Regions from separate parts of the Homo sapiens genome. Here regions 2, 3 and 4 are each linked to region 1. Evidence: promoter capture Hi-C in 16 types of primary human blood cells and fetal thymus (Javierre and others, 2016). All regions are on one chromosome and are shown on one strand. The core of a region is centred on a gene start or on the middle of the fragment in contact, and the rest is flanking DNA. Distances in the headings are between cores, read along the strand shown.

Evidence for each region. Contacts are between HindIII fragments. The CHiCAGO score rates a contact against its expected background, and 5 or more counts as called.
Region 2: the fragment with the promoter of FAXC here is called in contact with the fragment with the promoter of CCNC in region 1 in 9 of 17 cell types (megakaryocytes, M2 macrophages, naive B cells and 6 more); the score reaches 6.5 in megakaryocytes.
Region 3: a fragment that was not itself captured here is called in contact with the fragment with the promoter of CCNC in region 1 in 1 of 17 cell types (monocytes); the score reaches 6.5 in monocytes.
Region 4: a contact is called between the fragment with the promoter of COQ3 here and the fragment with the promoter of CCNC in region 1, in 11 of 17 cell types (total B cells, naive CD8 T cells, activated CD4 T cells and 8 more). The highest score is 12.6, in total B cells.

What each region holds. Positions count from the first base shown.
Region 1 is chr6:99,563,762-99,571,617 of GRCh38, reverse strand. CCNC (cyclin C) reads left to right here and starts at 2,958. Exons shown (of 12, transcript NM_005190.4): 1 at 2,958-3,122. The coding sequence starts at 3,091. It also overlaps the pseudogene TSTD3. RefSeq lists enhancers at 2,601-2,650, 2,771-3,060, 3,181-3,260. The HindIII fragment of the contact is 11,578 bases long and covers 1-4,161 here.
Region 2 is chr6:99,346,393-99,354,248 of GRCh38, reverse strand. It overlaps FAXC (failed axon connections homolog, metaxin like GST domain containing), which reads left to right and starts at 4,575. Exons shown (of 6, transcript NM_032511.4): 1 at 4,575-5,142. The coding sequence starts at 4,877. RefSeq lists silencers at 4,226-4,305, 4,366-4,415, 4,486-4,545 and enhancers at 5,737-6,301, 7,192-7,692, 7,693-7,856. The HindIII fragment of the contact is 2,521 bases long and covers 3,811-6,331 here.
Region 3 is chr6:99,746,720-99,754,575 of GRCh38, reverse strand. No RefSeq gene overlaps it. Among named protein-coding and RNA genes, the nearest start is that of PRDM13, 140 kb to the right of the region's middle. The HindIII fragment of the contact is 1,643 bases long and covers 4,335-5,977 here.
Region 4 is chr6:99,390,183-99,398,038 of GRCh38, reverse strand. It overlaps COQ3 (coenzyme Q3, methyltransferase), which reads left to right and starts at 3,844. Exons shown (of 7, transcript NM_017421.4): 1 at 3,844-3,965. The coding sequence starts at 3,860. RefSeq lists an enhancer at 3,949-4,588. The HindIII fragment of the contact is 4,880 bases long and covers 1-4,359 here.

The DNA of each region.
Region 1 (7,856 bases), core at 1,709-4,208:
TTTTTTTTTTTTTTTGAGACAGAGTCTCACTCCGACACCCAGGCTGGAGTGCAGTGGCGCGATCTTGGCTCACTGCAACCTCCGCCTCCCAGGTTCAAGCGATTCTCCTGCCTGAGCCTCCCAAGTAGCTAGGATCACACGCATGCGCCACCATGCCCGGCTAATTTTTGTATTTTAGTGGAGACGGGGTTTCACCATGCTGGCCATGATGGTCTGATCTCCTGACCTCGTGATCTGCCTGTCTTGGCCTCCCAAAGTGCTGGGAGTACAGGCGTGAGCCACCGTGCCTGGCCTCAGCTTTCTTCACAGTTAAAAATTGGAGGCATGTGTCTATTCTGGTCAATGGCCCATGAGAGAAAGTGATTGGGTTGTTTCTGTTTCAAGGCTCTTAACCCTGGGTAAGAGTTAGTATGAGTCCTCTGTGCTCTCTCTAGAAAGATTTTAAACCTAGAAGTAAAGACCATCAAGATGGAGTAATTGAAGGATATATAAATATTACATTCTTGAAAATCTGGAAGACAACCACCAAGGAGAGCAAGCCGACTTTATGGGACTTTATGGGAGTGACGTATGACATGTAAAATACTTTGATGTTAAGCTATGCTGATTAGGGGTGGGGGTGGGGAGGTGTTACCACAATTTCACCTAGTGTAGCTTATCCAGACTAATTCATTCTTTTTTCTTTTTCTTTTTGGATTTGGAGTCTCACTCTGTTGTCCAGGCTGGAGTGCAGTGGCACAATCTCTGCCCACCGCAACCTCTGCCTCCTGGGTTCAAGCGATTCTTGTGCTGCAGCCTCCCGAGTAGCTGGGACTACGGGTGCACGCCACCACACTCCGCTAATTTTTGTATTTTTAGTAGAGACAGGGTTTCACCATGTTGGCTAGGCTGGTCTCAAACTCCTGACCTCAAGTGATCCGCCCATTTCGGCATCCCAAAGTGCTGGGATTACAGGCGTGAGCCACCACACCTGATGCAGACTAATTCTCACATACAAACAAATGCATTTCACATCTTGACTGTGTGTGTATATGTGTGTTTGTGTATGTATATACACACATATATAACTGAACCAAATTTAAATATAATATCCTTGCTATTTCTGATTTACCTAGTATTTTCTGTTCTATTTAGGAAAATGATTATACTTAATTTTACCACACCCTAATTGGTCTCCACCTACAATGTGAAAAATACTGTCTTAAGTTGCCTCAGATGCTGACTGTCTATAAACAAGTTTCTGGAGTGTCCAATTATTTAGAAAAATAATTATAAGTTTTACAATAAATGCATTGCTACAATGAAAATGAAATGGAAAATACAAAATATTTCGTCTTGTAAAATTAAATTATGGCTTTTTTTGCAGTATGTTTCTATTAGGTGCATACATGTACATACATGTGCATACATATATGCATGAATATTTTTAGATGTTCTGCAAAACTGTTGATTCCGCTGCTCTGTAAGTTTGCACTTTATCACTCCAAAATAACTCCATTAAGATCGCGGCCGAGATCTCGCCACTGCACTCCAGCCTGGGCGACAGAGCGAGACTCCGTCTCAAAAAAAAAAAAAAAAAAGATCGCGGCCGGGCGCGGTTGCTCACGCCTGTAATCCCAGCACTTTGGGAGGCCGAGGTGGGCGGATCACGAGGTCAGGAAATGGAGACCATCCTGGCCAACATGGTGAAACCCTGTCTCTACTAAAAATACAAAAATTAGCTGGGCGTGGTGGTGTGAGCCTGTAGTCCCAGCTACTTGGGAGGCTGAGGCAGGAGAATCGCTTGAACCTGGGAGGCAGAGGTTGCAATGAGCCTAGATAGCGCCACTGCACTCCAACCTGGGCGACAGAGCAAGACTCCGTCTCAAAAAAAAAAAAAAAAAAAAACCGCCTGATCCAGGCCGGGCCTGGTAGCCCACGCCTGTTAATCCCAGCATTTTGGGAGGCTGAGGCTGACGGATCACCTGAGGTTAGGAGTTCCAGACCAGCCTAGCGAAATCCCCTCTCCACTAAAAATACAAAGATTAGATGGACGTGGTGGCACGCGCCTGTAATCCCTGTAATCCCAGCTACCTGGGAGGCTGAGGCAGCAGAATCATTTGAACTGGAAAGGCAGAGGTTGCTGTGAGCCGAGATTGTGCCACTGCATTCCATCCTGGGTGACAGACCCAGACTCCGTCTCAAAAGTAAAAAACAGGCAGGGTGCGGTGGCTTACGCCTGTAATCCCAGCACTTTGGGAGGTTGAGGAGGGCGGATCACGAGGTCAGGAGTTTGAGACTATCCTGGCCAACATGGTGAAACCCTATCTCTACTAAAAATACAAAAATTAGCTGGGCATGGTGGTGCGCGCCTGCAGTCCCAGCTACTCGGGAGGCTGAGGCAGGAGAATCGCTTGAACTCCTGGAGGCGGAGCTTGCAGTGAGCCGGGATCGTGCCACTGCACTCCAGCCTGGAGACAGAGCAAGACTCCGTCTCAAAATAAATAAATAAATAAAGTAAAAAAAAAAAAGGAACACTTGATCCCTGAGAACAAAGTCATCTTCATTTATTTCTCTTTCCAATCACAGGAAAAATAAGTCACAAAACCTTGTACTTTATTACAATGCCACATTGTTCTGTTTTTGAAGTCCTGGAAGAGGTAATAACAGAACCCCGTATCTGAGCCACTTCGCCTAGGTTAGACCCACTCAGCAACTCCCGTGCTGAAGACAGGAGACCGAGCGGCTTGGGCCCCCGGCCAGAATTCTCAAGACGCTCTCGCGAGAGCCTTCCAACCGCCGCGAGCTCTCGTGAACACTAGTTCTCTTCAATCTCAGCACCTCCAAGGGTCAGCACCTCCCCTCCGGCTCCCTCCGCTACCGCGGGCCGGAACTTTTGTCGATAGGAACGGGTTTGCACAGTTGAGTGTTGTCGGCCGGCGTGAAGGAGACTAGGGGGCCATCCTCTTCCTTTCGCCGTCGCCGCCGCGGAGCGGAGTCGAGCCGAGCTGATTTGATCGAGGAGCGCGGTTACCGGACGGGCTGGGTCTATGGTCGCTCCGCGGGCCGCTCCGCCGGCTGGTGCTTTTTTATCAGGGCAAGCTGTGTTCCATGGCAGGGAACTTTTGGCAGAGCTCCCACTAGTAAGCGATCTTCCGTCTTCTCACCTGGGGCCGGTTTTTGGGGGAGCTGTGAGGACGGGGCCTGTGACTCCCCTGGGCCTGGATCCCAGCTCAGTTCCGAGTGCCGGGGTCCTCACGGGAGACCGCAGCGGTCAGAATCAAGATGCGCTTTTCTGAGGCGACTCCCCTCCCCGCCCCCAGCCCCAGTTTCGGGGAGGGAAGGATCTGTGAGGGGGAGGGGTGGGAGAGAGTTTCGTCTCCCGGGAAGGAACGTTTCGGAGTTTAATTTCGGATTCTTGGTTTAGCTAGGCCGCGGGGGGTCGGATAGAGTGGGCACAGGTACGGGAAGTGTGACTCAGCTCAAGACTGTGAGGCTACCTGTTCAGGACAGTTGTGGCGTGCTTTTACCTGGGGTTTCTTCGGGTGATCGGCGTCGTGGTCTTTTGTCATTCACTGTATATCTTGAGTGGATTTAATATTATGAGGAGAGGAGAGAGTCTGGCTTGTTTCTGCCTACTAACCGCTTCTTGCGCGTACTTTATGTCTAGATGGAGTTTTATATTGATAAGGTATAGGGCAGGTGCCCTCTAAATTTATCCATTTCATTAGCCTGTGCTTTATATTTTGTTTTAAAGGCCTATTTTTCCAGTGACTTTGTTTACCTGTTTCTTTAACCTTTTTCATGAATAAGTTCTTGTTTCTGTCAGTGACCATGTGAGAGCTAGAATAATATTAAAAACATTTATCCCTAAATACATTTGTTTAAGCAGGCAGGAAGGTGCGTTATGGGGTAAATTGAACATTTGAGTAGGCTTTCCACTGTATAGTTGAAAGATGAACAGAATTTGACAAGGTATCTTGGTATAATTTTTTATGCTAAGAAAGCATTAGTAAGTAATTTAAATTTCGATTCTGTGAATAGGATCTGTTCCTGATGTTCATTTTTTAGCCCTTTGCAAAGAGAAAAAAAGAAACAATGAACTCAGTAACCTATTTAAGGAAAAGCAGGTTTTCCTCTTGCTATAAAGTGATTCTGTGGAGATGACATGTTAAAGAAGCTTTACCACTGATCATATGTGTGTGTGTGTATATATATGTGTGTGTGTGTATGTATATATATATGTGTGTGTATATATGTTGCATTGTTTTCACACACTGAAATATTGCTTGGGCAAAATTAAAGTATCGAAAGTTTAGGTATTGGAGTTAGAGCTCCTGAAAAAAAAAGTTTAGGTAGTGGAGAAGAGATATTCTGATAAACTCTGAAAGAAGCTGAGAGAATTGACAAGTAGCTGACTGTTGATTTTTCAGTTTTTCAACTTAAAAAAAAAAGATCCTGCCTTATTTTCAATAGTGTTCTCATTATGCTTTCATTTATTCATAGCATTCTAAAAATATGTTTTCACTTTTCAAATATAAAATTATTATAAAGTTAAGTGTACTTCTTTGAAACTATTCTTTTCTCCCAATTCAAATAGTCCTAAAAGAAGGGACCACTTTGCCTTGCTCAAATCCCTTGAGCAGTCATGGAGTTTCTTATCTGGAAAAGGTAACGAGTGTGGAAGACAAGACAATTCTGGAAAAACAAACGAAAAGATTATGAAAGGCCATTGTCTTAGGTGAATTTGGTGAAAGAGGGCAATTGATATTAAATATGCTATATTTCATGCTTCTAAGATGCACGTTTTCACACTTTAACATCTTTGAAATCAGCATGGCAGTTGCTTTCATAGCATATGAAATAATGATGAATCCTAGATGTAATCTTAAATTTGATGAAATGCAGTATTTATAAAGTTTTTTAGTTTATTCTCCATACAGAGTTCTGTGAGGAAAACTCATAAAATGTTTGTGAAATTTATCTTTTTAAAAACATAAAATGACTCTGTGGGGATGAAATTAATTAGCAAACCACAGTGTAGTTGAGGTAGAACAAAACACAGTCTGTGACCAAAATGAACTAGAAGGGCACTAAGTATTTGCTGGTTAATTGAATGCATTAATGAACAAGTAACAAAAATAAAAACTACAAAACTAACTGTGGATACTTTATTGGTATCCACAGGAAACTGAAAATACAGTTACTTACTATCTAGAAAATAACATCATAATAGTACCATATATGGAATGTAACCAAAGCTTGAATGTATTAGAAAATCAATATCCTGAATAATTGAGAGATAATAGAAATATTCTATTTAATAATATTAAGAAGGAAACATGAAATAAACCTAAAGAAACAGAAAGACTTAAAATAGATAACGATGCTAATATATTAAAAGGAAAAAAATTATAAAAGCTAATTCTTAGAGTAAATAAAAACAGTAGACCAAACTACTGCTAGTTAAATCAGGGGAAAAAGGAATGATACAAAAATACAAAATTAGGAATGAGAAAAGTAAACCCAGGGGTACTTTTGGGTTATCTCCAGGGTTTTAAATTTGAAAGCCAAAGCAAGTTAAGAGTATTACCCAAGAGCTATGTGTTATTTCATGGGTAAATACTTTCCATCTTTCAAGAGAATCTCCTTTTGAAATTGTTCCATTTCATACAGAAAGAAGAAAAGCTTTCTAATTCTCTTTATGAAGCCATGATAACACAGAAAAATCTAGCAAAGGGAACACTAAAAACAGTCTCACTTTTGAATATTAATGCAAACATTGTAAATGAATTATTACCAAATGCAGTCTAACATTACATTGAAAGTATAAAACATGACATTGGATTTTATTATAGAAATATAGTCAATATTAAGAAATCAAGCAGTAAAGGTATTAAAAAACTAATACAATTCAACATTTATCCTTGACTAAAGCTCTTACTAAAACAGAAATAGGATGCTTCCTTAACATGAAAAACATAAAGCATCAGCAGTGGTGAAACATTGAGATAATTAGGGTGCCTATTTAAGATTTTACCAATATGCTAGTCAATACAGTTGATACAAAGGAGATATAGAAAGAATGACAAAACAGGGACAAAATTATCAATACGTGGAAATAAAATTAATGAGAAAACTCAGTTAATTGAGAAGTTATTAGAAATAATAAAGGTTTAGGAAGGTGACCAGTTATAAAATGCAAAAATAAAAGCTTTTTAAAAATGGATAGAGAAGTATAATTTACATTAGCAACAGAAAATATACAGAGGGAAAAATATAAAGAAATATACAGAACCTGTAGGAAGAAAACTTTAAAAGTCCATAGTGGCACATACAGATTTTAATAGAGTTTGAATTCTTGGTAAGATGTCATTTCTCCCCATATTGATCTTTAAATGTAATGTAATCACAAAATTTGAATGGATATTCTTTTTTAGGACTCGACATAATGCTTCTAAAGTTTAGGTCTTAGAATAATTGTGATAGAATAGTCAGAAATTTTCAGAAGAATAGAAGGGAGTATTTTTCATATCACCTATTAATTACTTAATTTTCTATGTTTTAAAGTAGCACAGCATATGAAGAAGAAAAAAATAGGAAATTATAAAGAAGATCCAAGTATAATGATAGAATTATAAATCAGGAAATACCTTAGCACATTTGGATAAGCATTTGACAACATATTTAGCTGGATCCCTGCTTTATACTCTGTACCAAAATAAATTCCAGATGGATCATAAATTGAAGGAAAAAAGCTCTTAAGGGTATTAGAAAATATGGGTGAATTGTTTTTTATCGTTTTGAATCAGGAAAGGCCTTGCTATGCCTGACAAACATGAAAGTAAAAGGTAGATTTAAGTAAGTGATTCAGATTTCTGTATTACAAATAAATACTGAGAGATATTTAAACTTGGGAGAAATTTTGCACTTATTTGACAAACAAATGATTTATTATTTATACTATACAAATTTTAGATCAGAAGAATCTCTTAATCATTAAAAAAATCGGTAATCCCATTAGAAAAATGGTCATATTAGAATTAACATTGTACAAAAGAAGAACTGTATTTGACCAATAAAGACATGGAAAGATGTTTAACCTCAAAAGTAAACTACAGGGAAAAGAAACAGTGACATACTACTTTGCCTTTAAGTTACAAAGTATTTAAAAGTGGCAGTAACCCATAGGAATTTTTTTTTTTTTTTTTTTTTTGACAGAGTCTCACTCTGTACCCCAGGCTGGAGTGCAGTGGTATGATCTCAACTCAGTGCAACTTCCACCTCCCGGGTTCAAGCAGTTCTCCTGTCTCCGCCTCCCAGGTAGCTGGGACTACAGGCGCACGCCACCACGTCCAGCTAATTTTTGTAATTTTAGTAGAGATGGAGTTTCACCATATTGGTCAGGCTGGTCTCAAACTCCTGACCTCAGGTGATCCACCCACCTCGGCCTCCCAGAGTGCTAAAATTACAGGCATGAGCCACCGCGCCCGGCCAGGATTAAATATTATAAGATTCACTCATGAACTGTTAATACAAATGGAAATTGGTATAATGTTTTTGGAGGGTAAACTGACAATGTGTATCAATAAGTTACCAGCAACACTAACCCATTAATCCTACTTCTGGGAAGTTATTTCAAATATATTATTAATCAAATATGCAAGGAGAATTACAAAGATATTCATTAAGAAGAATATCATTCAGGAAAATAGTAGGAAGAGAGTTTTTTTTTATACCAGCTATTAATTACTTAATTTTCTGTGTCTAAAATAGCACAGCATGTGAACAAGAAAAAAATAGGAAATTATAAAGAAGATCCAAGTATAATGATAGAATTATAAATTAGGAAATACCTCCATGCATTTGGATAAGCA
Region 2 (7,856 bases), core at 3,326-5,825, 220 kb after region 1:
ATAAATTAAATTTGTAAATTATTTTGTTCATTTGTTTATGCTGTTTGTATTGGTGCCTGAAAAATGTTCCATGATATTATTAATCACCCAGGTAGTGAAACAGAGACATCATAAATTGCCTATTCTCTGTCTTCTCTCTTATCTCCTGTCCCCTTCCCTTACATCTCTCCTTCCCCATGACTTCCTCCCTCAGCTCCCAGCACTTGGGCATCAGGTCAGTCTCTCAGAAGAAATACACATTACTTTCTGTTCTAATTGTTCTTCTAGAGTCTTGATTTATTTTCTTCCTATTTCTCATTCTACTACTGCCCCAAACTTATCTGCAATGTATGATGTTCAAACTAATAAAAGGTGGTGACTTGATTGGGTTGATTAGAAACCATCTAACATGGGGTACACCTGGTGGGCAGAGTTCTTGATCTTCCTCATAAGCCAGTGGTATAAACAATTGTTACACAAACTGTGGTCTGGTATCACCTGGAAGCTTGTTAGAAATGCAGACTCTCAGGCCCCACCCCAGAACTACTGAGTCAAATTTTGCATTTTAACAATATCCTCATATACACGGTAATGTTTGAGAGGCCCACACTCAAAACATCCTAAACTTTTCTCACCACCCACCTTCTCAATTACCTCTGATCTAATTGTCTCTTGTTTGATCGTCATGACAGAGCCCCAGGTGACACATATGTACTTTAAGGTTTGGGAAACACTGATTTAGTTGTCCTTACCCAATTGTCTTGGCGAGGCTGTAGACCCACATGACACAGGGCACGCCGATATCTGCATAATAAATTATCTGAAGCTACCTTTTTCAGGTGACAGTATAACCTGCAGGCATTGGATGCTTTGTAGTCATTCAGTTGAGACAGTTGAAAACTGAGCCCCAGACTAATAGTGTAAAGCAAGAATACCATGGACAGCGCTCCAGCACTCACTGTTCTTGGTGTGAGACCCTTGTAGGTCAAAACCTTGTCCAACCTGGCGGCCCAGGACGACTTTGAATGTGGCCCAACACAAATTTGTAAACCTTCTTAAAACATTATGAATTTTTTGCGATTTTTTTTAAAGCTCATCAGCCGTCCTTAGCGTAGTTTAGGTGTGGCCCAAGACAGTTCTTCTAATGTGGCCCAGGGAAGCCAAAAGATTGGACACCGCTGATGGAGGTGGTGGAGCGCCCACAGGGCCACTGGTGTAAGACATGCTTGGATCCATCATCACCTCACTCTGGGAATTGAACTTGTTAATTGTCCCCTCTGGGCCTTAGTTTCTTTCAGTTGTAAAATTGAAATGACAATACTTATCTAACATAGCTTGTTACTGGAAAAAAAATCACTATACAACACAAACAGGTGTTCAATCAATATTAGTTCCTTCTTTTTTCTTGTCTTATAACAACTCAATTAAAGTTAGTTAACAAAAAGTCCTTGAAAAAGAAAAAGAAATTGCCTCTAGTTTGGAGCTAATGTCCATGCGTACGGCACCAAAGCTGTCAAAATTAGTGGTGGTGGTGGTAGAAGGGGTGAAGTAGAGATGCCTAGCCTAGTGCCCAGAGTCTTCAAATTTTCTCACTAACTATAGGAGCCTCAGGAGGAGAGCTGGGGTGCAGACATGCTCAGCTCCTGCACCTTCAGCCTCAGTAGGGAGGCCCTGCATAGCTGCTGTGGCTTCAGCCTGTGACTTGGCTCTACACTAGGGATTCTGAGGAGCCATTCTTTGCAGAATCAGCCTCCTTAGCAACTCTTGTTAACCAAGCTGTGTTTGGTTCCTTTCTACTGAGTTTATCCCACCACCACCACTCCTCTGGGGCTGAGTCCCTTGCCCCTGAGCCTGAGTCTCCCATCTTTCTACAGCTGGCTTGCACCCCTTTGTGGAGCAGCTTTTCCCTCTGAAACTCAGTCTGTCTTTGGATGAAGATTTGGCTGAGGATTGCATCAGTCGGTGCCTTTACAGCTAGAGCTGCTTTCCTTGCTCCCCAAAGGTTTGTTCTGAGGTTCTTCTTTTTTATTTCAGATGGAGTCTCACTCTGTCACCCAGGCTAGAGTGCAGTGGCGCGATCTCAGCTCACTGCGACCTCTGCTTCCCAGGTTCAAGTGATTCTCCTGCCTCAGACTCCCAGGTAGCTGGGGTTACAGGTGCTCGACACCATGCCTAGCTAATTTTTGTATTTTTTTTTTAGTAGAGACACAGTTTCACCATGTTGGCCAGGCTGGTCTCAAACTCTTGACCTCAAGTGATCTGCCCACCTCCCAAAGTGCTGGGATTACAGGCATGAGCCACCCCACCATGCCCGGCCTGTTCTGACATTCTGATACCAAATATTTGTCCAACTCAGATTTGTTGTCTCCTCAGTCTACTCTTCCTCTTTTCATCTTATACAGCCCTAACAATAATCATCTTTTCTCTTCTATGCCATGGATCTAAAAGTTAAAATTTAAGATGCATCAGATTAAGATGACATTTTAGTTTCTCTTGTGGAATTTTATTTTATTTTTATTTTTATTTTTATTGAGACGGTGTCTCGCTCTTGTTACCCAGGCTGGGGTGCAATGGCACAATCTCTCCTCACTGAGACCTCCGCCTCCTGGGTTCAAGCAATTCTCCTGCCTTAGCCTTCCGAGTAGCTGGAATTACAGGTGCTCGTCACCACTCCCGGCTAATTTTTTGTATTTTCAGTAGAGACGGGGTTTCGCCATGTTGGCCAGGCTGATCTCGAACTCGTGACCTTAGGTGATCCACCCACCTTGGCCTCCCAAAGTGTTGGGATTACATGTGTGAGCCACCTGTGCCCAGCCCACATCTGCTTCTTAAAGATGTTCACTGCAGTGTCTCTAAAAATGTAAACCATATTTGAACCAGAGACCAGATGATGCTCAACAGTTGTCTGACACTACCAGGAAGCAGCAGTGGGCCCCTGGCCTGCATGAGTGGGTGGGGCAGGTCACTATGAGTGAGAGTGAATTGTAGTCAGTGGCTTTCTGGGATAAAAATACTACACTTCCTCTGGGTTCTAACTTGTTTTGGGCATAAGGTTTGTCAGGATTGACTCTCCCTTTTGCCTTCCATATTCTTCCACTTAAGGTAATTTATGCCCATCCCCATGTCTAGACCTAGATATGCAAATAATGTGATCCCAAATATCAAACTTATATTCTTTAAATATTGGCTCAGTGTTCACTGAGAGCAAAGACTGAGTGCTCTGTGGGAAGGGCACAGAAGGAGCATGGAGAATCCCTGGTGCCAGCCCTCCTTGTTCCCTCTTCCAGAGCACTGCAGCTTTGGTCCCAGACTTAACTACTCTGCTTCTTGCCGACAAGGCCAGGCAGCCTTCTGGCCTCTCTCCTTGAAAGACCGGCTGGTGACCACCTCAGTCACCCCAGGAGGCCGTTGGGTTTCACTCCTTGCAACCTACTTATGGGAGCCTCACTTAGAACCACACACATTACTTCTTCCTGGGAGGTCACATTTTCCCAGGAGTGTTTGGGGAGTCTCACATGCTGGTGCCTAGGCATCAGCTGACTAGCCCCTCCCCCCGTCTCGTTGAGGCGACACGTCCATATTTATTATTTATTAACAAGACGACCACACTCCTTGCCTGTTCTAAGGGGCGGGTGTGTCAGGAGAGGAAAAAAAGGGGGAGTCCTTTTGCGCCTCAATCTCTGCTCCATAGGCAAGAGCCTGGAGGTTTCTTTTACCCATCCTTCCACCTTGAGAGTGATGAACCTCCACGGCCCGAATCCTTTTTCAGTTCTTCCAAACAATTTAAAACTATCCATGCTCTTGTTAAAATCTGTGCATATATTACAAGCTTCTATTCTTTGTACTTATGAACTTTAATAAATGAAGTTAAAGGAAAAAAATACACTGAACACACACACAGTTGTTAGACAGATTTTCTAAAACAAAAGAGGGACCCCCGTCCCCCAACCGAAACCCTGTATCAGCGAGTTCCCTGATAGTGACTTCAAAGAGGAAAGACTTGAACTGGGTTTGTCAGAGAAATCTCTCTAGGTAGAGTATTTTGTTATTTGCCAAACCAGACATCTCGTCTCTGCGAACACCTGGTCAAGCCCGAGGTAATTGTGTAATGTAATAAGAGTGTTTTTATACATTATGCAAATACGCAGCGCTTTCCTGATGGCCAGAACAATCTGATTCCCGACTTTAATCCTGGCCCACGCTCCCAGCCCCCGCCTGGTGGCGTCTCCTGCCCGCAGCTCCGCGCCGCCCCAGGTGAGTCCTGCGCGTTCCCTACTCTGGGGCCCGCGGGAGGGGCTGGAGCGCAGGCGGAGGGCCGGCCGGGGTAGGGGAGGACCGGGATCCGGGCCCCGACTGCAGCTTCCTCGCGGTGGGGCCGCATTTCCAGGCACCTCCGCCGCCCTTGCCCGCGCGCGGCGAGCGGTTTTTGGGCGTGCCGCCCGGAGGCGCGGAGCCTGCCCGGCGCGCCTCAGCCCTGCAGATCCGGCCCCGGCGGAGGCGGCCGGACCGCGGAGATGCGGGGAGGGGGCAGGGCGCGGGGTAGGTGACTTTATCCCGCCTCTGTTTCCCTGCCCCGGGGAGCAATGACATCACGCGGCCTTCTCCAGGCGCCGACACAAAGAGCGGGGCGGAGAGGCAGCTGCGGGGGGAGCCGGCGGCCGCTGCTGCCGCCCAGGGCTCTGGGGCCCCGCCGGCCAGGCCCGCCGTCCGCGGCCAGTGCCCTTCCTCCTCCTCCTCCTCTGCCGCCGCCTCCTCAGTCGCCGCCGCCTCCTCAGTCGCCGCCGCCCGCGCCGCCCGCGCCCTCCGCGCGCCTCTGAGCCCGCGCCGGGCCGCGCCGGCCCCTTCCCATGCGGGCGGCGCGGGCCCTGGGAGGGGCGCCCGGAGCCAGCCGCGCAGCATGCACTGGGGGGTTGGCTTTGCTTCGTCCAGGCCGTGCGTGGTGGATCTGAGCTGGAACCAGAGCATCTCCTTCTTCGGCTGGTGGGCCGGGTCCGAGGAGCCCTTCTCCTTTTATGGGGACATCATCGCTTTCCCTTTGCAGGATTACGGTGGGATCATGGCAGGGCTGGGCTCCGATCCCTGGTGGAAGAAAACCCTTTACTTGACCGGGGGAGCTTTGCTGGCCGCAGCTGCGTATCTGCTCCACGAACTCCTGGTCATTAGGTGAGCCGGAGAGAGGGCCCCGCACAGGGGCGCAGAGAGGGGCACCTGGCTAGGGCAGGGCTGGCGCGAGAGGGGCCCGTGCCAGCCCCTCGGTCAAGCTGCCCAGATGCCCAAGCGCCCTGCAATTACCTTTCCCTAAAGGCATTTGTGGTCACCTGGCCGTGAGGGGCAGTTTAGAGTTGAAAGGAGAATTAAACCGGTGCTGGGAGGGAAAAACATTTGTCTCCCAAAATGCTCTGGGTCACTTGTCGTTATCTATTAAGAAATGGCCTTAGGAGGATCTAAGTGCAGTGTGTTTGCAACAATAGAATTGGGCCCTGCAGAAATAGGTTACACTTTTATGAAATGCCTTGTTTATAAGTAATAATGCTGGAATATTAACTGCTAACCTTATCTTTTACCTAAAGGTTAGTTCTTCCCTAAATGTCAACATCAAAAGACTGAAAAATTGCAAAAGCTCCAGAAACCTGCGGGTCCCTGTTAAAGATGCATGACCAAGTGTAGTGGTGGGCAGCTTTGATGCAGCCTTAACCTGGTTCTCTGCTTATCTGGTATTGAACGCCAAGCACCATCTTCAGGCTTAGATGTCATTGTTGTGTGAGCAGTAGGACAGGCTAGCACATGGGTGTGTTGGGCACAACACGGAGTCGCCCAGTGCCGTAAACAGTTGCATCCGCTGCCGCAGAATGTTTACAAGATTGAGTTGGAAATACCAGAAAATGGAGGCCCCTGCTGTTGGTACATCCAGCCGGGACGAGATTTTTGTTTGGGTAGAGTAATACCACAGGGCACTGAGACAGTCGTTTGGCTAATTGATACATCAATTAATGGTTAAAATTTCCATGCATTTGAGCCTTCCGTCACTGGAAGATTACCAGAAGCCCAGTTTTCAATAGCTCAGAATGTCTCTTTGCCAGTATTTTCTAAAGTGAGAGAAATGTGTCCACACTGCCTTATTCCAGTGGAGGAATCCTACACAATAGGTTATAAACAAAGACAGTGATAGGTGACCTGTACTAGCCTGCAGGGATCCCAGGAGATTATTGTGATGGCCTAATGTAGGCATTTGGCCTAACGTACATATTTTGAATAGTTCCCATCTCTGAAAGGGTGGGAAATCATTTAGGTTTGGAGAAATGTATTGGTTTTCATATTATTTAGCCATATTTGAGGAAGTTTATTTTAAGCTTGTTGCACATTTAATTCTCTCAACACATTGCCTTGAATCTAGCTGAACCAAACAAAAAAATTTAAAGAGAATTATCTCTCTAGATTATTTGTTAATTGTGCTAGTTTTAGAACTGTATTTCAAGTTAGATTTCAAGCTACCTAAAGAACTAAAACATTTGGGCAGTAATTTAAATGGTAACCCAGTTGTTTCTCAGTTGTATTCTAGTCTAAAGCCTTTGAGGAGATCCCAAACCATGAGGCTTCTCAGCAGTGGAGGGAGTGAAGGCTTCACAGGACCAAGTTTAAAACAAAGCTTAAATGACCTTGCAGAAACAGTGTGGAGCTCAGCTGCCACTCCGGAGTAGGCCCTGCCCTGGCAGGTGTTGTCACTGGAGACTGGAGAGCTCTCTGCCCACAGATAGCTACTAACTCATTTAGGGGACTATATACCTCAGCACTGGATGCTTATTTGGACTAAGGAGTTTAATCCTAGGTTGATTCACACTTTTTCTTCCTTTTTTTTTTTTTTTCTTTTGAGACTGAGTCTCGCTTTGTCGCCCATGTTGGAGTGCAGTGGCTCGATCTCAGCTCATTGCAACCTCCACCTCCCTGGTTCAAATGATTCTCCTGGCTCAGCCTCCTGAGTAGCTGGGATTACAGGCGTGCACCACCGCGTCTGGATAATTTTTGTATTTTTAGTAGAGATAGGGTTTCACCGTGTTGGCCAGGCTGCTCTTGAACTCCTGGGATCAAGCGATCCTCTGGCCTCAGTCTGCTGAGTTGCTGGGATTACAGGCATGAACCATTGCACTTGGCTAATTTTTTTTTTAACTTTTTTGTGGAGATGGGGTCTCACTATGTTGCCCAGGCTTGTCTCAAACTCCTGGCCTCAAGAAATCCTCCCTCCTTGGCCTCCCAAAGTGTTGGGTTTATAGGTGTGAGCCACCATACTTGGCCAGTTTTGTTTCTGGACAAATGTTTGAGTTGAATTAGAAAGCTCTGAAGTAATGCAAACAATAAAAAAGGGCTATTTCTGAATACTTAGTAGGATGGGCTTTGCATGTGTGACTGCATTTATTCCTCACAACTGTTGTTTGTTCATTTCATAGATAAGGAAATTGCAGCTCAGGGAGGTTAAGCAGCTTGCCCAAGATCACACAGTAAGAGTAGTAGGATCTAGATTCAAATCAGAGCCTGCAGTTTTTAACCACTGCCTCTTAGAAAGTACCTACTTTGGCCCGGCGCGCGGCAGCTTACGCCTGTAATCCCAGCACTTTGGGAGGCTGACGCGGGCGGATCACGAGGTCAAGAGATCGAGACCATCTGGCCAACATTGTGAAACCCCGTCTACTAAAAAACAAACAAAAAAACCCCACAAAAATTAGCCTGGCGTGGTGGCACGCGCCTGTAGTCCTATAGCTACTCGGGGAGCTGAGGCAGGAGAATCGCTTGAACCCAGGAGGCGGAGGTTGCAGTGAGCCGAGATGGTGCCACTGCACTCCAGCCTGGCGACAGAGCGAGACTCCGTCTCAAAAAAAGTACCT
Region 3 (7,856 bases), core at 3,907-6,406, 180 kb before region 1:
AATAGCCCAATATTTTCTTCTTTTCTTCAAATCAACTTACCTCGTTTTTGATTTAGCCAATATTATATGTCCATAGATTACTTTGCAGGACATTTCTATTGAGCTAAGACCAACCACAAGGCTAAGTTTGGATCTAATGATTTTTGAGAAAACATTACTACAAAAAAGCCTTATCTCGAATGAAGAAAAGATTCCCAATGGTTAGAATTCCCAGTATACTAGAGAACACTGTAAAGCATAAGTTATTAAGAGTATAATATTATGGATTGTGACTGTCCCCTAAGTAAACCTGAAGGCTTGTCATAAAGTTAAAATGATAACCCGGTAAATTGATAAAATTAATATACTATTTTAAGTCACAATTGTTTAACCATAAAGAGGTCTCATGGATGTGCTGCTTTTCTTTTAATTAAATTAAAAGGTCTCCTCTGTAGTTATTGATGTGTGAACATATTTCCATAGAGAATTATCTAGATGAAGAGCAAAGCATTCAAATACAGTCAAATGCGATTGTATAAAGGTACTATACATTCATTCATTAGGAGAGTGTTCTAATATAAAATCAAAAGTAAAGCATGCCATAGGTAATTATTAGTGGCTCAGTTGTCAGTTAGTCAAATCAACAAAAAGGCCAATTATTCTAAGGATAGCCAAGATGGAACGCTCATTGTTGGAATTGAGTTGTTTTGAGATAGTTATGGCCCCTTTTTATGGTATAAATTAGTTTCCCAGTGAGAACATTTGGGACATAATTTCATATGTTGTAAATTATCCCTAAATTTTAAATCTTTAACATTTGGAGAGAAATATGATACTACCTTTAAAAGCCAAGTAAGGTATTAAAAGGAAAAACAGATAATTAAAATTTTAGATTAAGTTAGAATAGTACTTCCTTTTTTCCAATTTCAACACCTATATAACTCAAGAAACTGTATCAAAGACAAGTAAGTTTTCATTCAACTTAGTAATCATATCCATAGTTTATTTCTTAGCATGGAATTGAACTTATTGGTATATGTTGGAATAATTCGTTAAGAATAATAAAAAATTTAAGTGTTTTTAAATTTGAGAAAGAAGTGAACAACCACATATATAGAAAGCCTACAAAAGTATCAGGAGTAGAAAATGCCATGAGTGTCTAACACTTAGTGTCAAAAACATGTGTCCAAAGTATATTTGTAAATACAGTCTATTTGTAAATATAGTCTTCCTTCATCTCAGAATTAAAATTGTACAGTGGCTCTGGTATATTAAATTCCATCTCTAGGCTCTGCCAGTATTCAGTACCAGGCTATTCAAAACATTAGCTCAGTGAGAAATTGTTCTGGATAGTCACTCCCTCCTCATTGCTACCTGGGGTCCCAATTCACTGCTCCACCATGGCAGTTCTCACCAGGTATACTGATTGCCTTCTAGTCTGTCCCCTCTGTGGACTGTGTTCCCAGACAGCAAGGATTGTAGCTCATATATTGCTCTAGCCCCAGCCCCCAGCTCTTAATAAGTGTGTTTGATTAAATCAAATAAACACACAAAAAGCGTGATATTCAACCATTCTCAAATCCAGCTGTACAGTAGAATTACCTGAAGATCTTTAAAAACATTTATCCTCAGAAAACTTAAATCAGAATCTCTGGAGGTGAGAAGCTCTGGGATATGTATTGTTTAAAAATCTTCCCAGGCACCAGAAGCTGGGAAGAAGGGAATGAGGAGTGATTTTTAATGGGTATAGAGCTTCAGTTCTGCAACATGAAAAAGTCCTGGAGATCTGCTTTCCAACTATGTAAATATACTTCACGCTACTGAATAACACAGTTAAAAATACTTGAAAATACTTGAGATAATAAACTTAATGATACTTTTTTTTTTTTTTTTTAGACAGAGTCTCGCTCTGTCGCCCAGGCTGGAATGCAGTGGTGTGATCTCAGCTCACTGCAGCCTCCACCTCCTGGGTTCAAGTGATTCTCCTGCCTCAGCCTCCTGAGTAGCTGGGCTTATAGGTGCACACCACCACGCCCAGCTAGTTTTTGTATTTTTAGTAGAGATGGGGTTTCACCATGTTGGTCAAGCTGGCCTCGAACTCCTGACCCGCCCACTTCAGCCTCCCAAACTGCATACCAAAAACTACTTGTTCCTTAAAAAAGAAAAAAGAAAAAGAAAAGGAATCCAAGGCTAAATATGTTTCAGAAAATCTAAATGTCTTACCCAGAATAAAAATGCTCATTAGAAAATTTAAAACTTTAAGAAATCCCACAATTCAGAAATCTATTTAACTTATTTGTTTCCAAAACTTATTTGATTATATCATTATGAAAGAACCCTTCTCCCTCAAACTGGTTTTTATTCTTGAAAATGAATTATAGCATGGAGCAATGCCTCTCAACCTTTTGATGTCCACAGCACACTTTTGAGTACTAGAATCCCTAACAGTAGGCTTGAAAGGGAAAAATGACTCAAAGGAGCAGTAAACAAGACAGCAATGATTACAAACCATCACCAATGCAACATAACAATATTTACAATGTCTAAACATGCATGCATTCACAGTTACTGCATCGTATTATTTTATCCCCCTGAAATGCTGTTGTTTTGTGATGGAGCTACATACTTCCCTAATCTCTCTCTCCCATATGTTCTCCAGGCAGTTCTCACATTTCCTAGTGAACACTGGCACTGGTCTAACACTAAATCATGTCTCTTACCTTTACTCACATGATGTTGCATACCATGCGAGATCCTGTTTAACGTAGATATAAAAATGAAAACCTACTTTAATGCTTTATATAGACATTTTATTCCCTTTGAATACAGAAAGGATACACATTTTGCAAATTTTCATCTAATTTATTTTTCATAAATTAGATGAAAACTACAGGGCAGAATGATACTATTATAAAATCTGGGCACTGCTAAACTCTGTGGTGTATTTGAGAGGCACATAATTGGGTTCCTTTAATCCAGGCGGCAACCCATTATATTCTTTCTTTCACAGTGAATTGCATGTCAGAATAGCCACCGGGGGAAAAAAAAAAGGCATCATGATAACCCTGTTTTTCTCAAACTGTTATTTTGAAACCTGCTTGATAGTGCAGTCAACTCTGCAGTGTGGTTATTTAGTAAAGGTGAAATTATAACACTACAACATTAAAGATTCCTGACTTGCACTTTCATTGACTAGTATCAGGAAAATCAATCTAAAAACATTTAAATCACTTGAAATGTGTAACTGCCCACCCCAACTCCATCATAAGGAATGATGATATTCATAACATAATATTAAATATAGAACATTTATATTAGGTAATTTTAATTATAAATGATGTTATGAAGCCTGATTGAGAATAAAATTTGGCTACAGTTCTCCTTTTTGTTCCACAACTAGATTAATAAATGGGTTTTAGTATTTTTACTGGGTTAAAGAGTCAAGCTAGAAAAAAGAAAGAGAGAAAAGAAGAGTTTGTATAACCACATGCACAAAAAGAAATCTTGGAATAATTATTTTAACTAATGTGACTATTAAATGGAATTTTGTTTTACTTATTTGAAACACATCAACTGAGGTTGATATATTTTGGTCTTAGTGCTGTTTATGGTTATAATGTTGACATCTTCCTCTTAAAATGTTAGGCAAATCATAGGTAATCAATTAAAATACAATTTATACAACTGATGGGTTGAAAAAAGATAGACAATGTCAGAAAACAAAATCATAGTTCATTTCATTGCTATGAGAAAACTAAAAACTCAGTTGCTTTATAAAATGAGCTTGAGCCTAGTTGTAAATTTTGTAAGCCTTTTCTCATTAAAAAATATATATATATAGTATTAAAAGTTCCACTTACTGAAGGCTCTCGGGCCTTCCGATCTTAACATGTACGAGATGCCTACTGAGGAGTTTGGTTGCATAGGAATCTTGACTACAGAGACCTTGCAGAATCTGGCGCTTTTATTTTCACCTGTTAAAAAAATATGAAAGTCAAGCTGTTCTCTTAAGCAATGGGTTTGATCTTCTTAAGCTGTATTGCTATATAAAACAATATTAAACTGTATTGTCTCTTTGCATGTGAGTCCAAAAGGAAGAACAATGATAATTTTCCTCAGAAGACTTTTATCTCCTCCCCCAACACACATACACACAAACAGATAAGTAGAAATTTTAAAAGGAAAAGAATAGTAGTGAATTTGTAAACTATTTCTTAAACACACTCATTCACTTGCATTGTAGACGTTACTCTAGTGAAATAGATCTAACTGACTGAGATAAATGTAAAGAGATGTATCTTCATCATTATCTTATTCAAGGGCATTTTTCTTACAGCATAGCACAAATTAAAGCTTCTATACAATAGCCGTAACTAATTTCATATACCTAATTCCAAAGTTCATCATCCAATAAGAGAAAAAATATTTTTCTGTTTTAAGGTAGCACACATTTCTCTCTCAAAAGGGTCAACAATTTCTGGCTCCAGATACTAAGACATCCTCTGGCTTGCTCCCCAAAAGGCCATGTCATTCTTATACAACTTAATCAGTGGCTACACAGAGGAGAGCAACACTGCAATCTTTCTGATCATTTTAATGAGGACCCCTGGCTATTCAGTCATTGAAATATAATTGACTTGCTCTCCTCTTATTTTCATAATAGACACTCCAACCTAGACCACGTTTATTTGGCTATAAGAAATGTCAGGAAGAATTGGAACTTTTCTGAGTGTCCCCATTAAAACTGAAAACATGCCACCCTGTCTTTTACATGAGCTGCAATCATTTTGTGTTGGTCTCATTATGCAATACAACATGCAAATATTCCAGTCGCCTTCTCACCAAACTGCAAGGCCAAGAAAATAAGCACACCAAAAAAGTCTTACTTTATCTGTCCTTTTTTCTTACAATTTAATATATTTGTCCAATGTTTAGAAAAATTAGCAGCAGAAATAAGTATAAGTGTTCCTGTCGTAACTGATATTTAATAAGGTTGCAAAGTGAGACTGATGCCTTTCTACTTAATGATTACTCTATTTTCATAAAATGCAAAACTTTTCTCCATGAAATTACATAGTCTACTTAAGGATCAACTAAACATTATTTACAAAGTTATTATGTTTATACTGAGAGGTTTAGGTTTTCAAAAGTGATGTGCAAAATAAATTACTGTAATCTTTGAAACAACGTGAGCCCCACAAATTATTTTATAATTTGGAGTTTTCAAACTTACATTAGTTTAAACTTGAACAACCAAAAACTTTGATAATAAGGAACTTTAATCACAGTATAAATTTAAAAGCTAGTCCACCATGGAAAAATTATTTTCATAAATCCCTATAAAGTAGGCTAAGCACCTTCTCATCAGATATTTTTTTCTTAACACAGAATATTCAGATTAGAAATGTCATTCATCATAATCATAATCATAATCATTCCATTCATTTCTATGTCAATTAAGATAAATTTATATTTGCTTTTGACAAAAGTGTTGGAGGAAAGGGATTCCTGTACTGTTAACATACTTTCGGAGGGAAGTTTAGCAATATTTAGCAATTTTAATGGACATTCCCTTTGACTCAGCAATTCCACTTTCATGAATATGTCCTCTAGTTGAACAATAGCATATATATTCATATATCTATACACACACACACACACAAACACACATATACACGGTTGACCCTTGAACAACTCAGGTTTGAACTGCACAAGTCAACCTATACTGGAATTTTCTTCTACCTCTGCCACCACAAGACAGCAAGACCAACAGTTCTTTCTCCTCCTTCTCTTCCTCCTCAGCCTACTCAACATGAAGAAAATAAGGATGAAGACCTTTATGCTGATCCACTTCCACTTAATGAATAGTAAACATATTTTCTCATCTCTATGATTTTCTTAATATTTTCTTTTCACTAGTTTATTGTGAGAGTACAGTAGATGATACCTACAACATGCAAAATATGTGTTAATGACAGTTTCTGTTATCAGCAAAGCTTCCAGTCAACAGTAGGCCATTAGTTAAGTTTTTGGGAAGTCAAAAGGTATACATGAATTTTCTACTGCATAGGGACCCGGGGTTGGGGACGATGATCAGCATTCCTAACTCCCACATTGTTCAAGGGTCAACTGTACACACAGATTTTTGTACATGGAAATACATTTACTCAGATGTTTGTTACACCATAGCTTATATTTGGAGATAAAAAACACCAGAAGTAAACCAAATATCCCAGAGGAAGGCTGACTAGATATGTGATGACTTATTCATCTTCATATAATTAAATACTATATGTCCAATAAGTGAGGTAAATATAGATATTACTACTGGCATAGATATTGCTAAGCGAAAGACAATGTTGCAAAAGTATATAGAATGTAGTCTTTTTTTCTAAGATAATATACAGGTTAACGTATGCATTTAAAAATTTAGAGAAATATACAGCAAATTGTTAACAGTGATTATCTCTACAGTATTAAAGTAGGGAGTCACTCTATATTGAACATTTATGATTCGTTTATGCATTCAGCTAAATATTTTTACTATTTATCCATTTATTTATTTATTTATTTTTGAGATGGAGTCTCACTCTGTCGCCCTGGCTGGAGTGCAGTGGCGCGATCTCAGCTCACTGCAACCTCCGCCTCCCGGGTTCATCAGCTAATATTTATTTAGCACATACAATGTGCCAAGTGATCTTCAAGGTGTCAGGAAACCTAGGGAGCAAAACAAAGTCATCAGTGTGTGATCCTTTTAAAATCAGAAAAAACAATACAATTCCTGGGATTTCAGCTATTTTAAGGAAATAAAGAAGTGAGAACCATTCATCCCATTACCCCTGTTAAGACTCTTTACCCCTTTTTTCTTGTCCAGAACTTTTTTGATGTTAACCTAATCACAGCCAGATTTTTTTTTTCTGAGACAAAGTCTCATTCTGTCGCCCAAGGTTGAATGGAGTGCAATGGTACCATCACCACTCCCTGCAACCTTGGCCTCCCAGGCTCAAGCGATCCTCCCACCTCAGCCTCCTTAGTAGCTGGAACTAAAGGCATGCACCACCACACCCGGCTAATTTCTGTATCTTTTGTAGAGATGAGGTTTCACTATTTTTCCCAGGCTGGTCTTGGCTCAAGTGATCCCCTGGCCTCGGCCTCCCAAAGTTTTGGGACTACAGGTTTGAGCCACCACACCTGAAGATCTTAATATAAGCTATCATTAAAGCAATCTCTATTAGGTCTAAATGTCTTATGAAAAAGATTGTATTATACTTTATTATCTATAAAACTTAAATACTTTTGTTACTATATATCTGAACCTGCAATTATGTAAGAGTAATGAAGTACATTTGTGATTTCATTACATATACTTTGACAGTAATAAGATAATTATGTATACGTAAATATGACTATGTAACCATACACATGAATATTTTCACAAAGCTTAAATAATAACTATAATTGTTTTTACTCATGAACCACAAGATAATATTAAGCTTATGGATCTGTAATATTTCAATATCTTATTCAACTTACTACTAACATATATTAGAAGATTTTCAGATTGATACTAATATTGTAAGAGTATAGTAAATTTTATTAAAACGTATATGTTTCTTATACAATATGTAAATGCTAATATTAATTCATATGCTTCAATTTTTTTAAAATCTAGTATGTATTCTCTCAAAAATGTCCTAATATGAGGGTTTTTTTTCCTTTTTTCCCTTTAAATTAACAAAAAGTATTTAAAGAATTATTCACAAAATGTCTTTGACTTCAATGAAAACTCATACTTATTAAAGGTAAAATTTTTAGAAAGTACTTAGGGTTCTTATTCATAATGTTCTGAACAAATTATAACTAACTCCACTAGGATG
Region 4 (7,856 bases), core at 2,595-5,094, 170 kb after region 1:
TGTTTTCTGCCACTATAAAATTACCTTTTTAGCATCTGTTTCTAGTGGTGTAATACCAAGTAGGTAAATTTCGCAGTCTATTTTTAAGTGTCCTGAGTTTTTTGTTTCCTTAAACACATGAAAGGTAATAGTAAAGAATTTTTTACTGTATTTGGGAATTTTTACATAGGAGTTGTATTAGGTTTCCAGTCTCTGTAGTGTTGCCTTACAGAAATCTTTACATCTAAACTGAGTTTTTCTTCTCCTACATAAATTTAAATGTATTTTGATTTACTGAAGTTTCTAAAATGTACTGAGTACAGACATACACCACATAACGACGTTTCAGTCAATGACGGGCCACATGTACAACAGTGGTCCCATAAGATTATAATGTATTTTTACTGTACCTTTTCTGTGTTTAAATACACAAAACCATGATATTACAGTTGCCTACAGTTTTCAATATAGTATTTGTAGCCTAGGAGCAAAAGGCTATACCATGTAGCCTGGGTGTGTAGTAGTCTATACCATCTAGGTTTATGTAAGTATACTCTGTGATGTTCACATCACAATGAAATCACCTAATGACACATTTCTCACATGTCCCCAAGTTAAGCAACTGCATAGTTGCTGTTTCTTGCTTTTTGAGATGGAGTCTTTCTCTGTTGCCCAGCCTGGAGTGTAGTGGCGCAGTCTCAGCTCACTGCAAACTCTGCCTCCTGGGTTCAAGTGATTCTCTTGCCTCAGCCTCCTGAGTAGCTGGGATTACAGCACCCACCACCACATCTGGCTAATTTTTGTGTTTTTAGTAGAAACGGTTTCACCATGTTGGCCAGCTGGTCTCGAACTCCTGACCTCAGGCGATCCACCCGCCTTGGCCCCCCAAAGTACTGGGATTACAGGCGTGAGCCACCGCTCCCAGCCGATTGCATAAATGGAAGTAGTAGTAGAGTCATTGGATTGAGCTGGCTCTGTTTCTTGATGTGTTTTAGGCAAATCACTAAATCACCATGGGCCTTAACTTCTTCAGCTGTGTAAGGGAGGAATTAGATGAATTTTTTTTTTTTTTTTTTTTGAGATGGAGTCTCGCTCTGTCACCAGGCTGGAGTGCAGTGGTATGATCTTGGCTCTGCAACCTCCGCCTCCCAGGTTCAGACAACTCTCCTGCCTCAGCCACCCAAGTAGCTGGGACTACAGGTGTGCGCCAACATGCCCAGCTAATTTTCGTATTTTTAATAGAGACAGGGTTTCATGTTGGCCAGGATGGTCTTGACCTCGTGATCCGCCTGCCTCGGCCTCCCAACATGCTGGGATTGCAAGTGTATGCCACCGCACCTGGCCAAATTAGATTAGTTCTAAACACATCTAGCTGTTAAGTTTTTCAGTTTTAAGTGGAATTTTGTTGTGTAAAATTTAAAAGAGAAAATGGGCTTTAGCTCTTCAAAAAGCACACATGGGTTATATTTATATCATAAAGGTTTATCAGATACCTATAGAGTTCCTTTAAAGATACCTTGGTTAAATCTGCCACATTCTGATTTTGGTAGAAGTTATGATAGAATTATTCTGAGTTACCAATTTATGTAAAATTTTTAAGTAAATGTGAAAACTTACCAGTTAAACTGAGTGGATGTAGTGGTATATCTCTTTTTTTTTTTTTTTTTTGAGACACAGTCTTGCTCTGTTGCCCAGGCTAGAGTGCAATGGCGTGATCTCAGCTTACTGCAACCTCCACCTCTCTTGTTCAAGCGATTCTCCTGCCTCAACCTCCCAAGTAGCTGGGATTACAGGATTCCATCACCACTCTCAGCTAGTTTTTGTACTTTTTGTAGTAGAGATGGGGTTTCACCATGTTGGCCAGGCTGGTCTTGAACTCCTGACCTCAGGTGATCCGCCCACCTCAGCCTCCCAAGGTGCTGGGATTACAGGTGTCAGCCTCCACGCCCAGCTGTATATCATTTCAAAGCTACAAGGGAGCACTTTACCCTTGGATGAAAAAAAAAATGTTTATAAAGTTGAATTACAAAACAGACATTAAGAGTTTTAGAGCAAAATAAATACGCAGACTTACGGGTGAGACCATAACAATAATAGTCTGGGGAAATATCTCCAACAATGGCCATATACTGCATTACAGCCATTACAACTTTCCAATACCACTTAGGCTTAAGGGTCATTGGGAAAGCCCTTTGTTGATGTTTGTAGCGAGAAATACTATGAGCTAGTTTTGCTTATTTGGGCCAGACCTGTTCTGGGTGTTCAAAAGACATACTTGTCAGCATAAAGCAAATCATTGATTCCCCTTCTTGTTAAAATGTAGTGGAAAGGCTCTGAAGCCCAGTGAAGTGTGGTACCTTCAAAGAAAGTACATATAAAGCTCCTAGAACTTTATTTAATTGTGCTTGCACTTTGCTTTTTCCTTGGATGTGTCACTCCAATAAATACAAGACGTGCTACATTTTCTTTTGTGCAGAGCTTTCTGCCTTCATGTGGAGAGAGGATCATGTATCTAAGGGTAGAGGAGCTCTGAAGAGGACATAGCAACTGAAAAGTGCGACCACCCTTAGGAGGAGGTCAATATTTTAGCTAAGAACCATGAATGAAAGACTATTGCTGTCTGGGTGAGGTGGCTCCCACCTGTAATCCCAGCACTTTGGGAGGCTGAGGCAGGCAGATCACCTGAGGTCAGGAGCTTGAGACCAGCCTGGCCAACATGGTGAAACCCTGACTGAAAATACAAAAATTAAGCCGGGAATGGCAGCATACACCTGTAATCCCAGCTACTTACGAGGCTGAGGCACGAAGAATCACCCGAGCCTGGGGGACGGAGGTTGCAATGAGCTGAGATCCTACCACTGCACTCCAGCCTGAGCAACCGAGTGAGGCTGTCTCAAAAAAAAAAGAAAAAAAAAGATTCCTGAGCGGTAAATTTCGCTAACTGAAAGAACCCTTTACCAATTTGACCCTACCTGTTGAAAATACAGAATAATTTTTTGTCTTCAATGTTGGAGATTCGTCATTGTTCTTACCCAAAGAAAGACTTTGTGCATTTAGACGTAAAATGTTACTGATCACTGTTCCTAGCTCTAAATGAAGTTTGCCTAGACTGAGCCACAGAAGCCTCCTACTACATGATGTATATACCCTGTACAAGATAATAGTCATTTGCAGAAAATAAGTTTTACATTTGGCCTTCTGGCCATCTGATATTTGAGTGCCTTGAAAGGGGAAACAATTCTTCCCTTGAGGAAGAAGTGCTCCCATACTCTTGCATTCTTAGCAGTAGGGTCAATGTCTTACAGGAATATAAAAGTCCTTGAAGAGACATCTGTTAAGTGTGAAATAGAGCTACATGGCAATAAAAGAAGACACAGCACGAAGTAATGGCCTGATTGAGGTCAACTTCGAACATGAGGTTTGAGGTGTCCTATAGCAATAAAGTATCTTCAAAGTTGTTTATGATAGTAAAAACATCTTGCAGTTTAATTCCATGTGCAATTTGCTAAATGAGCGTGAAAGTATAGCCATACATACATAACACTCAACAATACAATCATGAAAGTCGGCTGCAGGCCGGGCGCGGTGGCTCACGCCTGTAATCCCAGCCCTTTGGGAGGCCAAGGCGGGCGGATAACCTGAGGTCAGGAGTTCGAGACCAGCCAACATGGAGAATCGCTTGAACCCGGGCGGCGGAGATTGCAGTGATCCCAGAATCCGAGATGGGGACTGTACTCCAGCCTGGGCAACAGAACAGACTCTGCTAAAAAAAAAAAAAAAAAAAAAAGTCGGCTGCAGACGGCGAAAGTGATCTCGGAACCTTTATGTTGGGGATCTTTTTTCGGGAGGGACCGGAAAAGAGGTGGGATCGTTTGTCGCGATGTGGAGTGGCCGTAAGCTGGGCTCCTCCGGGGGTTGGTTTTTAAGAGTGCTGGGGCCTGGAGGCTGTAATACAAAAGCTGCGCGTCCCTTAATTTCCTCGGCGGGTGAGTGTGTGTGCGGAGGTCCTTCGCATGCAGTCAATTGCGAGCGCTGGCGTCTCTGCGCATGCGCCGGGGGTGGGGCGGTGGGTTGTCTCTGGACCTCGCGAGGGGTCAGCGCGAAACCTAAGGCTTGGTCCTGGCCCCATCTCTCTCCATTGTAAACCTCGCATAGTCCCGTTGGCGGACGCCGGGGAAAAGAGCTCAGGACCAGTGGTCCTGTCTGGAAAAGCGCAGGCCGCGGGTCTCTTGTGGCTGAGCTCCTTGCCCCAGGAGCCGGCGACCCGCTCTGCGTGTGCTGCAGTCTGAAGGTCATGCATCTTTCCTTTGCCGGGGCAGGAATAACTCACGCCTCGTAGTTATGCATAGCTTTGTATCTGTGTTTTGTTTGCACAAAGCTTGCTGTTTTTTTCAGAAAGAATTTAAGGCAGCTGTATTACTTTTTGATTAATAGGTTAATCCAACAGACTGCATTTGCAAATGAGATCAAGAAAATAATGCACTGCTCAGTGCTTGTAGACAGCAGTCTGATTTTCGAACTCTCAGTATTAAGTAGAAACTTAAGCTCATCTTTCACATGGAACTCTTAACAAATACTGTATGCCAGACACTGGTATGAGCACTGGGAATTTAAAAATGAATGACACCGCAAGGATCTCTTTAAAAATGTTAGGATAAACCTAAGATCAGGATATAATGAACAAAAAAATGGGGAATCTAACCGCCCATTAATAAAGGTTATTAGTTGGTACTATCATACAGTGAAAAATAGTACAGCCAATAAAAATGATTTAAATCTATTTGTACCCACATGGAAAAGTAGTAAGATATAGTGTTAAGAAAGTAAAGTTTCATTGTTTCCTGGAAGGAGCCAAAAAAAAAAAAAAGTTACAAATCAGTATGTATAGTGAACTTGGAGTTACAGGTGGAGATATATAGAGAAATTTTGCAGTGATTGCCTGTGGTAGAGTAGGTGATTTTCTATCATTTTATCCTTTATATACTTTTCTTTTTCTGAACTTTTTTTAGTAAACATGTGTCTTTTATAATCAAAAATTTAGAAAAGATATAATAAACCTAGTTCCAATTTTTGAGGGGTGAACATAGAAGGAGCATTTAATCCATATTTGGGATCAAGGAAACTTCTTGAATGGGATATTTAGAGAAATCTTGAAGGAGGTGGCCAGTTTTAGAAGCAGTTGGTCGAGACAGGCAGCTCACTTGAGGTCAAGTGTTCGAGACCAGCCTGGCCAACATGGTGAAACCCTATCTACTAAAAATACAAAATTAGCTGGGCGTGGCGGCAGGCGCCTGTAATCCCAGCTACTCGGGAGGCTGAGGCAGGAGAATCGCTTGAACCTGGGAGGCAGAGGTTGCAGTAAGCCAAGATCACACCATTGCACTCCAGCCTGAGCAACAGAGTGAGACTCTGTCTCAAAAAAAAAAAAAAGCAGTTGGAGAGGGGAAAGGACCAGCTCGAGAATCTGTGAGAAAGTTTGTGAGAAACTGCAAGGTTCCTTGAAAAGTAAAGTGTGTAGGTGGAGGGCAGAAGGTAAAGGCAGGGGGTGGCAAGGGATGAGGAAGAGGCCTTTTTGGCCATGACACATTCATGAAAGGCCATTTACACCTCCTGAGGTAGACTATCCCGCGGACAGTGGAAATCACTGAAGAAGCAACATGAACAGATTTATGTTTAAGAAATAACACTTGGCAGCTGTCTACATAGAATGTGGGATGGAGTCAGGCAAGTCTAGGCCCAGGAAGACCTTAGAGCAATCCAGACAGTAAATTATCATTGCTGGAAATAAAGTATTGGTAGGGTAAAAGTCTGTCACCTGTTTTATTCACCATCAGCATGGTGCCTGGTAGGTGCTGAATAAATGACTTTTCAATAAATAAAATGAAAAAAACCTTTTCCCATTCCTTTAAAATTTCAAATACCAGGATGATCACAGATTCAAGGTAGAGAAGGAATTGGTAGCATTCTGTTTAAATACAAACTCAATTACTCTCTTTCCGTTGTGGTAAGGTGGTAGAGTGGTTTTTATTTTTACTTTTTAGATTAATTAATTTTTTTTTTTGAGAAAAGGTCTTGCTCTGTATCCCAGGTTAGAGTGCAGTGGCATGACCACAGTTCACGGCAGCCTTGGCCTCCCTGGCTCAATTGGTCCTCCCACCTCAGCCTCCCAAGTAGCTGGGACTACAGGCAGGCACCACAATGCATGGCTAATTTTTATATTTTTAGTAGAGAAGGGGTTTCACCACATTGTCCAGGCTGGTCTTGAACTCCTGGGCTCAAGCAGGCCGCCCACCTTGGTCTCCCAAAGTGATGGGATTACAGGCATTGAGCCACTGCGTCTGGCCTAAGATGATTTTTAAACCTCTTGAGAATTGTAGCAATACTGATGACTTAGGGATTCATTTTCCAGAAATAGAGGAGGTAAGAGAGAGATCAAGGGTTGTCTGTCCGTAAAAGCAGATATTGTTAAAATTTCTAAGGCTTAGTTTCATAATAGTAATACCTTATATGTCGTTATCGATGTATCATGGTTTACATAGTTAAACTTTATTCTTTAATAATATCTCATGTATCTACCTAAAGTCATACAGGAGGTGATATTTGAACTGGGTCTTAAAAGGTAGTCCAGATAGAGTTGGTGGAAAGGGAAATAAAATGAACAAAAGCCTGGCCGAGCACCTTTAATCCCGGCACTTTGGGAGGTCGAGGCAGGTGGATCGCTTGAGCTCAGGAGTTTGAAACCAGCCTGGGCAACATAGCAAAACCCTGTCTCTACAAAAAAAAAAATACAAAATTTAGCCAGGCATGGTGGTGTGCTTCTGTGGACCTCGCTACTGGATAGGCTAAGGTAGGAGGATTACTTGAGCCCAGGAGGTAGAGGCTACAGTGAGCCGTGAACCCACCACTGCACTCCAGCCTGGGCAACACAACGAGACCCTGTCTCATAAATAAATAAATAAATAAATAAATAAATAAATAAATAAAATGAGCAAAAGCCTAGACACATGAACTTTATTAAAAAAGAACATTGTAATGGGTTTGGGATGGACTGTGAAGGGCTGATTAAAAAATAAAACCAAATAAACATAAGCTCAGGAGAAAAGTATGCAGAGACTACAAAAAGACAAGATGTGAAATATAAATGACCACTAAACATAAGAAAGGATGCTTAACCTCATTCATGATAAATTGAAACTACATTAACTGGGCACGGGGCCCATGTTTATAGTGCCAGCTACTCGAGGGGCTGAGGTGGGAGGATCGCTTGGGTGACCTTGGTGGAGGTTGTAGTGAGTGGAGATTGTTCCACTGCAGTCCAGCCCGGGTGACACAGTGAGACCCTGTCTCAAAAACAAAAACAAACAATTAAAACTACACTAAGATACCATTTTCATGTATTTGATTAGCAAACATAAAAATGTTTAACAAAGACTGGGCGCGTGGCTCACGCCTGTAGTCCCAGCACTTTGGGAGGCCGAGGCGGGTGGATCATGAGGTCAGGAGATCAAGACCATCCTGGCTAACACGGTGAAACCCGTCTCTACTAAAAATCCAAAAAATTAGCCAGGCGTGGTGGCGGGCACCTGTAGTCCCAGCTACTCGGGAGGCTGAGGCAGGAGAATGGCGTGAACCCGGGAGGCAGAACTTGTAGTGAGCTGAGATCTCGCCACTGCACTCCAGCCTGGGCGACAGAGCAAGACTCCGTCTCAAAAAAAAAAAAAAAAAGTTTAACATTGTATGGGTGACAGTGTGGGAAAACCAACAAGAGACACTCTCATAGATTACCGATAGGATAGTAAATTGGTTCAACATCTATTTAGTGGCAATTACAGATTTACAAATGCACGTACCCTTTGACATCATTCTTGAGATTTTAC